Linked DNA regions of Homo sapiens: region 2 is linked to region 1. The links are contacts of gene promoters, found by promoter capture Hi-C in blood cells and fetal thymus (Javierre and others, 2016). All regions are on one chromosome and are shown on one strand. Each heading gives the region's core, a stretch centred on a gene start or on the middle of the fragment in contact. The rest is flanking DNA. Distances are from core to core; before and after follow the strand shown. Region 1 holds the start of PSMD6-AS1 (PSMD6 antisense RNA 1). Region 2 has its middle 85 kb from the start of PRICKLE2-DT.

The links. The method cuts DNA at HindIII sites, captures the fragments that hold promoters and counts their contacts. A CHiCAGO score of 5 or more calls a contact.
Region 2: a contact is called between a fragment that was not itself captured here and the fragment with the promoter of PSMD6-AS1 in region 1, in 2 of 17 cell types (megakaryocytes and naive CD4 T cells). The highest score is 7.2, in megakaryocytes.

Annotation. Positions count from the first base shown.
Region 1 is chr3:64,006,506-64,013,625 of GRCh38, forward strand. It overlaps PSMD6-AS1 (PSMD6 antisense RNA 1), which reads left to right and starts at 5,459. Exons shown (of 2, transcript NR_189168.1): 1 at 5,459-5,537. It overlaps PSMD6 (proteasome 26S subunit, non-ATPase 6), which reads right to left. Exons shown (of 8, transcript NM_014814.3): 6 at 6,934-7,102; 7 at 4,373-4,450; 8 at 4,046-4,259. The coding sequence ends at 4,163. PSMD6-AS2 (PSMD6 antisense RNA 2) reads left to right here. Exons shown (of 3, transcript NR_038286.1): 2 at 3,192-3,248; 3 at 5,292-5,738. The HindIII fragment of the contact is 1,623 bases long and covers 4,563-6,185 here.
Region 2 is chr3:64,356,836-64,363,713 of GRCh38, forward strand. No RefSeq gene overlaps it. Among named protein-coding and RNA genes, the nearest start is that of PRICKLE2-DT, 85 kb to the right of the region's middle. The HindIII fragment of the contact is 2,037 bases long and covers 660-2,696 here.

The sequences.
Region 1 (7,120 bases), core at 4,209-6,708:
GATCCAGGGGCCAGAGTTATCAAAGTGATACAGCACTTTTAGGAATAGGACAGGGAATGGAGGAATTGGAATTCCAGTATTACTTTCAAAAGCAGAACTGGCCAGAGGAATTGGAATTCCAGTATTATTTTCAAAAGCAGAACTGGCCAGAGGTGCTTGTGATTCCTGGGTGGAAACCATGGCAGTGGACAGAAGCAGCATGGAGGAAAAGAGCACTGGAATTCAGGCTGAGGAACTGTGAAGCCAAGGGTGTTGTATAGGTTGTCCATTTCAAATTAGGGTTGCTTGGTTCTGGGATGATTTGCATGGAAGAGGGGAGAGTGACTTGGAGATGTGTGATTGAGGACAGTGAGCACAGTGAGTTGATGGTGTTGCTGGGTTATAAGCAGCTTCAAAGAGAAGGCATTTTGAATGAAGGTGGAAACATAATGGCCAGGAGAACAAGCAAAGGACTAGGAAACAGTGAACTTCATCTTGGCCTCAAGTTCCTGAGGTGCATATGAATAAACAGTCTCTAACCCAGAGGGTTTCAAGAAAAGCAGAGTCCTCAAAATCCAAAGGTAGAGTTTCCCCACATTGATATTATACTAATTACACGTATAACAGTACTTTGGAAAAGCACAGGTCTCTGGTCACCTCTAAAAGGCAAGGTTGGTAAGGAGGTCAGGGTGTCACCTGTTGGTAGTCTTAACTAAATGGTCTCTTCAAGGGATCTAAGGATGGAAAGGGGATATATAATGGTTGGATTAAAGGCTCATCATTGATTAGCAAATTGTCCCTTTTGTTTCTTAAACCCAATTTGTACAGGGAAAGTTATGCCACTGTAAGATATTTTTAAATGGGGAAAAAAAAAAAAAAAAAAAAAAGGTTATACCCTTTGACCATGTATGTCAAGGTTAAAATGGCCTGGATCAGATTGCTACAAATTCCTGATAGCCTTTGTATTCCTTCAGAAACACAAGCATAATGCAAATCTGTGGCTCTACAGCTTTGAAACCAAAACTAGTGATTATCAGAGCTTTTCATGTTATCCAGATGGGGATTTTACCCCACTCCCCCATTGCCATTGTGGAGGCACAGGTTTGTTACCAGCAACTACAAGTTTATGTAGCATTGGGAAGGTCAGGGATTATCATAGTTCCCTCCACGCTTTTTCCCCCATAATCATGGGGGCAGATATTTCAGCTGTCAGCTGTTCATCTTAAAAACATTAGGTTAACAGCAGCACCAAGGACTAATTCAGAATATGAAATTACAGAAATGATTTGCTAATGATTTAGTAGCCTTTTATCAGTTAATGTTTGGTCAGGTTATAAAAGACCAAATGTGTTCAGTCACAAAATCCTAAGTGTATTGAGTATTGCATGCTTAGTGATCAAGTTGTAGGCATCCTTCTAGCCATCTGGGGCAGGTAAAAGTTGGGTGCTTAACAAAAGTGGTTTTTACACTGTTTCTGTCCTAAGAGACACTGTTTTTTAATAGCTTAAAAATTGACCTAAAGCTGTTATTTCTAATACAGGAAATAGATTACCATAATTTGACATAGCTTTAAAATATTTAGCTCTTACTCGATAGATTTGCTATAAAATCAACTTTTACTGAGGTAAGAGAAACTGGCATTTCTGCTTTAAAAATAATCACAAAAGATAGTTTATCCTGGCGATATCATTTCACACTAGGATAGTTACTTTTGACTGAAACCAGGGTTAAAAATAAGATTGTTTCCCACTTCAAAAGAAAACATTTACCAACATGAAAAAGGAACTATGTATAACTGTTTTAGCATCATTTCATAATCTTATTTTCATATTGTGAAGTAACCTTCTTGAATAAAAGCAGAAAATTAAGACTTTCAGAAAACAAGCTGTACCAGTTAAAGCTACTAGAGACAGGATAAAGGTTAGGAATTCTTTGGATAGTTTCTCCTAGCTCAAGCTTGTCCAACCCAGAGCCCACAACAGCTTTGAATGTGGCCCAACACACATTTGTAAGTTTTCTTAAAACATTATGAGCTGTTTTGTTTTGAGCTCATCAGCTATCCTTAGCGTATTTTGTGTCACCCAAGACAATTCTTCCAGTGTGGCCCAGGGAAGCCAAAAGATGGGACACCCCTGTCTTAGTTGATTAACACAGGAGGCTGTTAACCATCAACCTCACATGCACAATATTGGGGGTAGTGCAGGGATAACAAGCTCAAATGCCAGCAGGGGCCAGGCAGACAGGCAGTGTATATGAACAGACTGGGTGGACTGGGGCACACTGGAAAACACGCTATGCTTGTCGCTCAGCTTATTGGAGCGTGAGTCCAGATTTAGCTTCACCTGTCCTTTTTCCAGAGAAGCTAGATATGTGGTTTTTAAACTGTCAACTTTTACGTGGTAACTATAAATTTTTTTCTTGGAAAAGTATTTAGGGTGTGTCAATTGCCGCCTGTGGGTGAACAACTGCAACTCTGTAGCATTCAGAAGCCACCTTTGCATTCCTGACTAGCTTTGGTTTTCTGTAGAAAACCAAAAAGCTGAGGTTTTTTTCCTTTAAGAAATGTTTTCTAGATAAGCATTTTTAGAAATTCATAGGTGGATATTCTCAAATACATTAGGCATAGTCAGCATTTTAAAAGCCTCCCCTCCACAATACAGTGCCTACAGGAAACTCCTTTCAAAACAGAGATCTAGCCACATTGCTTTCCTTGGCATACAACCAATGGCTCTTCTTCCAGCGATGAGAGCTGCTGTCTTCACTTTTAAGATAATGCTTCTAATATTTTGCCATTAATTACCTTGTGATAGGGCTTTGATATCCCAACCTATTATTCATAGTCTACTGAAGAGTTTTTTTATCATGAAGAAATGTTGAATTATATCAAATTATTTTCAATCAAATGAGATCATGTTAACAGGAGTATGTTATTCCTGTTAGGAATTCCATATTAGGAATATGTTATTCCTAATATGTTAACAGGAATCATTCCCATCAGTAAATGTTATTTAAAGCAAAAAAACTCAAAACTCTTCTTTCCTTCCCTTGCCTTTTACAGTAAAATGCCATTTCCCATTCTCTTCTGAACTCACCTCTACCAAAACTGCTCATTAAGGTCACTAGCTGTCTTTCACTTAAGCCAAAAAGCCTAGGATCTCCTCTGACAAATTTTCTCCCCCTCATCCTCCTCACCCCATTCTTCAATCTTTTAGCAAATCCAGCTGCCTGTACAATCCATGCCACCGAATGCCGTAAGTGAGACGTAAAAGGTAAGCCAAATCCGCACTTAAAATTGCCAGTGACTTTCCTCGTCTTTCTTCCCTCCATACGTTCATGGGCTCTCCCTCCTTTTCACTTAAATGTCACCTTACCATAGAAGCCTTCCACAACACCTCAGAAGACGGCCTATACCCTGTATCTCTATCTATCTATCTATCTATCTGTCTGTCTATCTGGTTTTATACTTCTTATAGCACTTATTCCTATCTGACACACTGAATAAAACTGATAAAACTAATAAACTGTTTCAAACAAACAGAGGAACAACTTTGTTTTCCTCACTGCTATTATTACTATGGTCCTACTTTTGGAAAAAAGATTCAGTTTGCTAATAAATACTTACATATAAGGTTTTAGAAAACTGAGATCAGCCTTGGTAGATTCTGTAATCCAGGTTATGTCAGCTTCCTAAAAAAGAGTAACTTCCTGCCTTATATGGTTACTTGTTTCTGAGGGAAAGCTTATTACACATTTTCTTTATCTTCTATCTTTTGTATACTAAAAGTGGGAGACACTGTTTGTTTAATTTTAGGCCACTACTCTTCTTTCTAAAATCGGGAAGCTTACAGGTAAGAGATTTAAAGGTAAGCGATAATGGGCTGTGTCAACATCCGTATTTTACTGACGTATTTTACTGATGAGGCAGTCAGGAGCTGAACCTAGCTGAACCCAGCTGCAACCTTACCCTATAAACCAGATTTTCATTAATGAATAATTCAAGTGACATTATTTTAACATAAGTGGACCCGATTCTAGAAGGCCTATGTGTTTAAGAAAAAAATAAATGGAAAGAAACAACAATGCAGTATTTATTTTATACAGCTGACCTGGGCACATTGTGAAGTAAGCTATAAAAATTCCAAATAATTATCTCTAAAGCAAATCCTTTGTTAGTTACATGGCTTTACATATTAATTACTCTGGAAAGTTTTTGAACTCTGTTTAGTAGCAGATCTCCTTTCTTGATAGTTTCTTGGTACTGCCAGTTCTTGCTATCAGGTCTATAAATAAATTCAAGAAAAAATGAATTATTTACCAGTCACATTATTCCATGACAATAGTTGACCTACTTTTAAAATTTAGGAATGCCCCTTATTCTGAGAAATGAGAGTACCTGTTGGTTTCTACTATTTCATTCACTTTATCTATTTTGCAGTGTAGTCTCCCGGCAGCAATAAACCTGGACAGTTCCCTAATTTAGAGACAAAAAATAACAGAATTAGCTTTATAGAAAATTCTTAGAAAAATGCAAACGGCATTAAAATACTGTCTTAAATTTGTAACAAACATTTAGCTTCCCTTCAAGCTTGTTATTGCACATGCAGTAGTTGACGTTGTCCCTCCTATACTGCAGGCTTTAAGTCATCATCTACTAGAATAAACATGATCCTAGAAGTTCATATTCAGATAGATAGAAAGTAGATCAAACAATGAAACCATATGTACTCAGAGAAAAACTGTAGGTTAGGAAAAATTAGGGACCAAAACTGATAAAAACAGTAAACTGTTTCAAACAAAAGACCTAAAACAAAATTATGGAACACAGCCCATCAGTAAACATGTCAACAGCAATAGTATTAACATGTCAACAGCAATAGTATTTACTAAAACAACGACCCTTTCCCTCTCTAACATATCTTAGTCTAAACAAGTGGAAGGGAAGGGGAGAAATGATGTAGAATTATTGCTTTGCCCATTTTAAAAAAGGGGATTTCATCTAAAATGTAACTTTTTAAGGGAGAAAAAAAGAATAAAGAATCCATGACAACCCAGATTTGAAATTCTTAGGTATCACAGAAATTTAAAACAAGGCCTTTTTAGGTAACAACAACTAGAGCTCAGTGGTACAACCTTTGCCTCTCAAGCTGGTCTTAGAACATGAAGGGAAAAAAAAAAAACTGAACAAATACTACCTGAATTCAACTACTACCTGAAAGGTACCAGCTGCCTTGCATTCACTTGTCATCAAGATGACTTAAGGAATACTGCGGTGTGTGCCCCTAACTAATGAAGGCTTTATCTCCACATTACAGTTACGATACTGAAGAGACGTAACCTGACCAAGGCCACAGAGCTGGAAAAAGAAGCAAAGCCAAGCCGTTTTTCTCATGCACTGCTCACAACAAGCCCCTCCTTCCACTGACTCATGAAAAACACACTCATAATGCCCAGCCCGCACCCTAATGAACAGCCCTCTTAAGAGTGGTCATCAGACTTCAATTTCACAGACTAGAATTGAGAAATGGAACAAAACCTTGGGATACCAGCCTTCCATTTTGGTAGGGATCATTTAAAAAATGGTAGGGATCATTTAAAAAATGTGTTGGTGTCTGAAACTTACTTTGAAGTGGTTAAAAAACATAAAATGTATAGATTGTAACAAGCAAATATGTTAAAATGTACTGTACAATTCTTTCTTTACAATTTTATGGATGTTCGAAATTTAAAAAATACTAGAAAGAGAATGGTCTTATTTAAAAGAAATGCATCTTCATTTAAAGTTTCCACTGCAGACCATTGAAAACACCATCATCAACATTTAAAAACACCTACATGTGGGAGCCACTGATCTAGATGCCATCTGGACATCCCATATTGAGTATGTCTCCTACCCAACTCTACTCTCACCACCCTCGTCCACGCCACGGTAACATCTCCTCTAAGAGCTACTAAACAGCACAACTGGTCCTCTCTGCCACCTTACTCTATTTCTTATATAAAGACACTGCATAGGACCATGTAACTTGGGCTCTAAATCTTCCAATGGCTCCCTATCAAACTTACTTAAAACTCAAGCTCCATCCCATGACCTACAAGGCCCTACACAAATCATTACCTACCTAACTCTCCATATATTATCCTCAAAATCTCCTACCACTCCAACTATGCTGGAGCCACCCTGACATTTTCTGTTCCTACAACATCCAAGCTTATTCCTGGCTCAAAGCCTTAGCCTTTTCTATTCCCTTTTCTGCACGCAGAAGGACTCCATATGGCTGACTCCTCTCAATTCAAATCTCAGAGCAAACCTCACCTCCTTAAGCATGCCGTACGTAAGGATAGCATTTTCTCATCTCCATAGGTTCATTTCTATATGTGAAATTACGTTTTATATTTATTTGCTTCCTTGCCATCTCTTCCCTACTACTACAATGAAAGTGTGAAAAGGGAGCTGTAAAACAATACCAAACATATAGTAATGAATGGCTCATTAAGTATTTATTTGTTTAATCACTGATGCAAGTACTAAAAGTCCCACATTTAACAACCAATCTGACCAGAATTGCAGCAGCAACCTAAAAACTGGAAGGAATTATCAGAGGGAATATGACCAACTGTAAATATCAGATCTAAGAGTCATTACCGTAGCTGCAGTGTGGTCTACAAAGAAGTAACAGAAGACAACTTTTGATAACAACTGGTCTAATGACCTTTAACAAATCACTTAGCCTCACTACAACTCATCTTCCCATCTGTTAATGCAAGGGGCAGACATGACATGAGGAAGGCAGAGGCAACAGGATACGAATGTTTTGATAATACTGAGGAAAAAAACCTCTCCCCTCCCCGTTAAGATTGAGGGAACCAATGTAAACAAGTAAAAAATTGTACAAGTTCACATATTTTAAAAGGCAACTTTAAAACTTCAATTAACATGGCATTATTCAAACTTACTGATCAATGAATTCCACACCAACACCAAACGCTTCTGCCATATAGCCAAGGGTTAATGACCTATATGATTCCAGCAGCTGACTGTATGCATGAATTCTCATTTCTCTTACATAGTATCGATAATGAGGGGCAAAAAGCCAGTCCTTTTTCATTTCCTGTTCCACAACCGCTGCAATGAATAAAATGA
Region 2 (6,878 bases), core at 428-2,927, 350 kb after region 1:
TCCCAATGTGAAACTGCCAATTTCTAAACATTAGCAACTGACTCCATTCTTTAAGAAAATTTCTATGGGTCAAACAAACACATTTGCAGGAGTATTGTTGTCTGTAACCGCCATTTTGGTACCATTGTTTGAGTTAACCAAGGCTTAGGTATTTTGTGAATTCCATTGATTCTGGTAGGAAAACAGTAGAGAGAAAGAATACAGATGACGATTCAATACACAGATCTTAGAGTACACTAGAGCTGGACTCTACTCTTGGCTCTAACACTTACTAGTGATGTGACTTTCCAAGACTTCTTCACCTCTTTAGAGCTCCATAATATGGGTATAATGATATACCTACCTCACAGGACCTCTGAGAGGATGAATGTTGACAAGGCATGACATTTAATTTACCATAGTCCATGTTGTAAATATCCTTATTTTGACCTCCAACTATTTGTGGAGCTATTAAAACCTCTTGCAAATATCTAAAAAAAGATCATCTTGAGGTGACTCTGCTTATTCAGGCACCCAACCACAGTTCATGGAAGTCTTACTTATACCAGAAGAAACATGTTAACTCCAGGGCTACTGGCAGAATAAGGCTTGTTTCCTTCTCTTGCAAAGTTGAGAAGATCTCCAGATAACTCATATTGGGCCACAAAATCACTGGAAGAAGCTTGAAGATCACTTTCCAAACCCTTTACATTATAGATGAGAAAACTGAGGCCAAAGCAGCTGAGGGTCACCCAAGGTTAGAACAAGGCCCACATCCCAAATGCACATTTACAGAAACAAGCTCTTTTCATGTGACAGTGATTTCCCCAGGTCCCAGCCAGGTGACATCTACAATCTACAAAATCATGAACTCACCTAACTTTCAGTTTCCAAACCATACTTGTCCAGCAGATCCAAAACAACCACCTGAAACCAGGGTGTGACATTGACAGTTCACTGGAAAAGCACTTTCTTGTTTTTGTCTGTCCATTTTCTTCCCTCTCTTCCTCTCTCTTTCCCCCCAACCCCTTCTTTCTCTCTTTCTCCTTGTCTCCTGCCCTCTCTCTCTCCTTCTTTTCCATCCTTCCTTCCTCTGTTCTTCCCTTGTTTTAAAAATATGTGACCTCACTCCCCAATATAAAACTCATGTGCATAGCCAGTTTTAGCAAATTTGGGGTGTGTGTGTGTGTGTGTGTGTGTGTGTGTGTGTGTGTATACTCACCATGTTTGGAAAATGAATTCCTAGAAATAGAAGGGCTAACTAAGCCACTTATACGGGATCCTTATAGCCCAGGACTTATGGAGATAAAGTTCTGCATCAGCACGCTGGCAACCCTCCTCTGTGTATTCTAAGCCCTCAAAGCCATGTCATTTCTCTAGCTATATTTTCTCATACCCTCCACTTACTTTTCTACACAATGGTTAGTTAATTCTTCCAGCTGTGATGTTTGTGGTGCCCGCAGGATGCTAGGTGACTTGCACCACAGCCCTATCACCACAGCCCTATCACCAGTTGATTTTCATGCTGTTTTCCTGGCCACTTCCTAAAGAGCAGTTTCCTGTGAATTTTGCATTTTTTACATCTATTGTTTATAGATTTCCTTGGCATCTTCACGGCACCTTTAGCACCATTTTTTGCGGCCCTTTCCTGATATCACAGGGCCATAGTGTCATGAGACCATGCAGTAATGGCAGGGGAGAAGGATGGAGAAGTCACAGACTGACAGCATATTCGTACTGTGGAAAGCATAGAAGGGCTGTGCTGAATGCTTATAATTTTATGTTGCCTTGGCATCCATTCTAAATATAAGTTTAACTCTCTCATGCCAGAGACAGAGCTCAGTGTCACTTTTGACAGTTTCCAGTTCTATACCACACCCAAATGGCTCAAGCCAGGAGCCAGAGGTAAGAACTTAGCAGAGATAAGAACTTAGCCCACCTAGCAGACTGGGCTTCCAGCTTTCCCTGCAATTTCCCTTACATGAACCATTTAGGCATGTGCCTGTGAACTTAAAGTGACCCACATCTATTCCCAAATATGTATAGATGGTTGCCACATTGTCTTCTGTCTCCCTGCCTGGGCTCCCTGAACTCCCTGTGTGTGGCGGCCTCCAGGCTTGCTGTGTGCCACCAGGGTCTGTAAGTAATAAAACCTCTTAAACTTTCACATTGCAATTGTGTCATTGAAGCCCTGCAGCCATCAGATCCCCGAGCCCCACCCTGACAGTGAGGCCACCTACAGGGACCCATGCAGGTGGATCTCCTGCTGGTGCACTTTTGTCCAGGCTGCTGGGGATGGTTGCTACCAGCTAAGTCGATAGAGAAACCCAGAGTTTCATTCAAAACAAGGACACGTTAGTCCTCATCAGCTGAAAGACACTCCACTGAGCAGTCATGAGAAAGCAACTCTCAGTGCTGTAATCAATCAATGAACATATAAAAACTAAAATACTTCTAACACAAATAGAGCTACAATAAATCAATGCTGATACATCATTGGCATTTAATCAATATTAATTTTTGAAAAACTGCTGAATAGAGCAGAGTTAAACAAACTAAGTATGCAAGAAATTTTAAAAAAAGGTGGGGGTGGGGAGAGTTTCCACCACCCAGACACAACCATCATTAGAATTTTGGCATATTTTCTTCCTGTATTTTTTAAATGTTTTTAAAATAATAGGAACAAATATACAATTTTCATTTATCAATATATCATAAGCTTTCCCCATTTCATAAAACTCTTTGTAAACATCATTGTTAATCGCTAAATTATTTTGATTAATACTCCAGTCCCCTATTGCTAGACCATTTCATAACCTCACTGCTAAATATTTTTGTTATTTCCAATTCATAATTATGAAAAAATAGCATTGCTATAAATACCTAAGTGATACAGTTTTTTTTTCTTTTTTTTCTTTTTCCTCTTTTTGGATTATTTCCTTATCAAGAATTCCTGGAAATGACAATGTGGAGTCAAAGGGCATGAATATTTTTCAGGTTTTTGATAATGCCTTGCCAGAAATTTTGAACCAATATATACACTCAACATCAAATGTATGAAACTGTCTACTGCCTGTACCTCATCAGCACCGGGCATTGTGGTTACCAAATAAAAAACAAACAAATCTCCCTCCCCGCAAAAGCCTTTGCTGACTTAACAGGTAAAACGGCACCTCACTCTTTCTTGAATCTGCACTGCACTTACTGCTCAAGAGCTGAACTTTTCATATCCCTATCTACATGTGGATTCCGCTTCTCTACATTTTCTTTCTGTTCATGTTCTTTGCCTATCTGGAAGGCACTTTGAAAGCAAACAACCATCATTTATGAAAAAGAGAATAGGTTCTGCTCCCACCTTTTAATCTTTAATTTTTTTTTAAACTTCATCTTTTTACTGCTAACCTAGCACTAACAAGTGAACTTTAATGCCAGATAATCCACTCCCATCTACGGAAGAGACACTTGGTTCTTCCTCCCCAGGTTAGAATACAATTATTGCTGGACTGCTCCTCCTCTGCCCTGGCATCCTTCTCATCCCTTAGTACCCAGAGTCCACAGAGGCCAGCAGGAGAAGAAAGCTGCAAGGGCTCAGAAGGTGACGGAAACTCAATTCCCACAAGAGGCACCACTGAGAACCACCTCCAACAACAGCTTTCAATTAGAGAGAAAATTAGAGATCTGTCAAAACCGATCTCAGCATCCATCACTTCCCGTAATCTGCTTCCCAAGATGCATGGAGACTGGTGCTGCCAGACGCTGGCCCCCGCCATGCTGATTTGCCCACTGAGCAAGACGCCTCAGGAAGCTGCTCATGAAACAGAATGGAAACACAGCACTCAGGAGCTCAGTGGCCTGAGGAAACAGCCGCCTGTCAATTCTATAAGTCAGTGATAGGCTTCCCGAAAAATTTTTGTGTGTGTGTTTTTTTTTAAAGGAGCAACGTATTTATAAACTTGTCCACGAACTATTATTGTAAATGGGTAAGAAATGTGTACATGTGTGAAGAGAAACAGGAAAAGAAAATGGAAAAATATATTTGGCATATGACCATGTAACATGACATCTAAGTAAAAGCACTAAAGAGAATTTATGTATTAAAATAGTCAAGGTCATTAAGCAAACAGCACAGTAATAGGTGTTGCAAGCAAAAATCATTAATGGAGGCTAAATTGGGTGGGCAGAAGTATGATGAGAAACATGATACTTGCAAAGTCTTAAAAGTGTCTCCCCACAAGATACTTATTACAAAGAGAAAAAGAGTTTTGCAGTGGAGGAGCCTAGTAGACAGTACCTTAAATGAGTGATCAAAGTAAGCATAACCAGTAATGTCACCATATCGCCTACCCCCAACATGCTGCACTGAGAAGGGCACAGCATCGCTTCTGTGGTCTTGTCAAAAAAGCCAACCTCAGGTCAGGCATGGTGGCTCATGCCTGTAATCCCAGCACTTTGAGAGGCTGAGGCGGGTGGATCATTTGAGGTCAGGAGTTTGAGACCAGCCTGGCCAACAGGGTGAAACCCCATCTCTACTAGAAATACAATAATTAGCCATGTGTGGTGACACATGTATGTAATCCCAGCCATTTGGGAGGCTGAGGTAGGAGAATCGCTTGAACCAAGGAGGCGGAGGTTACAGTGAGCCAAGATCGCACCACTGCACTCCAGCCTGGGTGACAGAGGCAGACCCTGTCTCAAACAAACAAAAAAAAAAGCCCACCTCAGTTTAATCAAGCAAACATATCAGAAAACTCAGATGGAAGGACACTCTAGGAAAGACAATGACAGGAACTGTGGCAGACTGGAGGACGAGACTAGAGGAGACAGGACAACTAAATGCAATGTGAGATCCTGGCTAGGATCCAGGATCAGGAAAAAACAACATGCATGGAAAAGCTGCTGAATTTTGAATAAGGTCTATAGTTTTGCTAATAGCACTGCATTAATGTTAATTTCCTAGTTTTGATATTGTACAATGATTTTGTAATATATTAACCCTAGGGGAAGCAGGGAGAAGGGTATGTAGGAGCTCTCAGTATTACCTTTGCAACTTTCTGAGAATTATTTCAAAATAAAAGTATTTACAGATTACTGAAGTTTAGTTATCTAAAAATAAATGTGAATAAAATATTTAATATTTTCTTCCCTCCTGCATTGAATCATTGGGTGTATGTGCATTGGAGATAAAAGGATGGGGTCAAGGATGGCTGGGGAAGATTACTAAGTCTCCTATGGATAGAAAGGTGAGCCAAGCCTTGAATGTGGACAGTCTAATTATGGAGCCTGACACATAAAGAAATGCATCACTTTAATAACTGAGGAGGGCTATTGGGCAAGTGATTACGGAATGGTAGAAACAATCCTGGATTTTGAGTCAAAGCCATGGATACAAACCCTCAAGTGTTGGCCCGAACACAATAAAGCTTTGAGATCTTGAGTCAGTCACTCAGTATCTATGGAAATGGACATAAACAAACTTTATTGCACACGACTATTGTGAGGATAAAGTGAACAGAGGTGTCTGAAAGCATTAGGTAAATGGGAGAGCCCTGCTATGACAAGGTTGTTAAAATTACCAAGATTAACAATAATATCCACGTAGCCAAAATAATACCGTAATTTCACTCCTAAGCTACAGCATCCTAGCATCTAATGGTACCCATCCCATATGGAAGCAAATCTGTCTTGCCTTCTGTCTGACCTTGGAGCCTGGGGCCACCAGTCTTCATGTGTGGTCAGTATTAAGCACCATCTGTCCTGAGTTAACACAACTCCTTCTAGTTTAAGCAATGAACACAGGCTGCAATGGCTAAAGCCTAAATAACTGCAATATGAAGAAAGGCTTTCCCACCCTGTTTGTCACTTTGGATGCATAGTGTTCACCTCCCAGGTGTTTACCCATCTAAATTGTGTGATGAAATGTCTTTTGAACACTTTTACAAGCAGTTAGATGCAATCAAGTTCTCTTCTTGCTTAAGACTCCTCAGCAAAGAAGATACTAAAAAAAAAAAAAAAAAAAAAAAACACAATAAGTGGCTGGGCTGCTTTGCAAATCTTTTCCTGCTGTACTTACTTCCTTGCAGTCATTCTACCTCTCCCCTCCCCTCCATAAAAAGCCCTAATGATTGTGACATTCATGATCTCTAGTGGGGTCGTTTTTCTCACTGCTCATCCGTATGATAATATGAGATGAAAAGGAAGCTGTATGTTAGGGCCATCTGTTGTTTAAATCTCTTCAAGATCCATTCACTCTTCTGGTAATAGTACCTAGGTTTTCCTCTGGGTGTCCGCCTGCCTCTTGCTCCCAGTCTCTGTGGGTAGCTCCCACAGCAGTACAAATTGAGCCAGAATTGGCCGATCAGCATAGTCCATCCATCCTCCTATGGTTAGAAAGTTCAGGGATGGGTATGTGCCTCACCTCAGAGCAAGGAAATCTCATGAGGCATGCAGGAGTGTCTGGAAATGGAAATCTCTCTTTTCCTGGGGTACTATGTTAACAGAATGTAAGCTTATGGCTGCTGAGGGCCCTCCTGCAAGCACAAGAAGGGGGCCTATCCCAAGAGAAGGTAAGACCAGGGACAGCAGGAGAGAGAGGAGAGAGAACCTCATGGGTGGGGAGAACTCTACTGAAATCATCATACCACCTGTGTGCAGGCCTAAAGCCAGTGCTACACCCACCCCACCTCCCCAGTCACTGACTGCTCAGTTAAATGAGCTGATATTCTTTTTTGCATCAGTCACTTTAAGTTTGGTTTCTGTCCCTTGTGACCTAAAGTGATCTGACTGTGAAACCAGGAAAATAAACATTAAACACTACCTTCTGTGAAAACGGAAGGTGCTACCAGCATACATCTGTAGTTTTTGTGGGGTCAGGCCTGGCTGCCCAGGGTGACCCACATCAT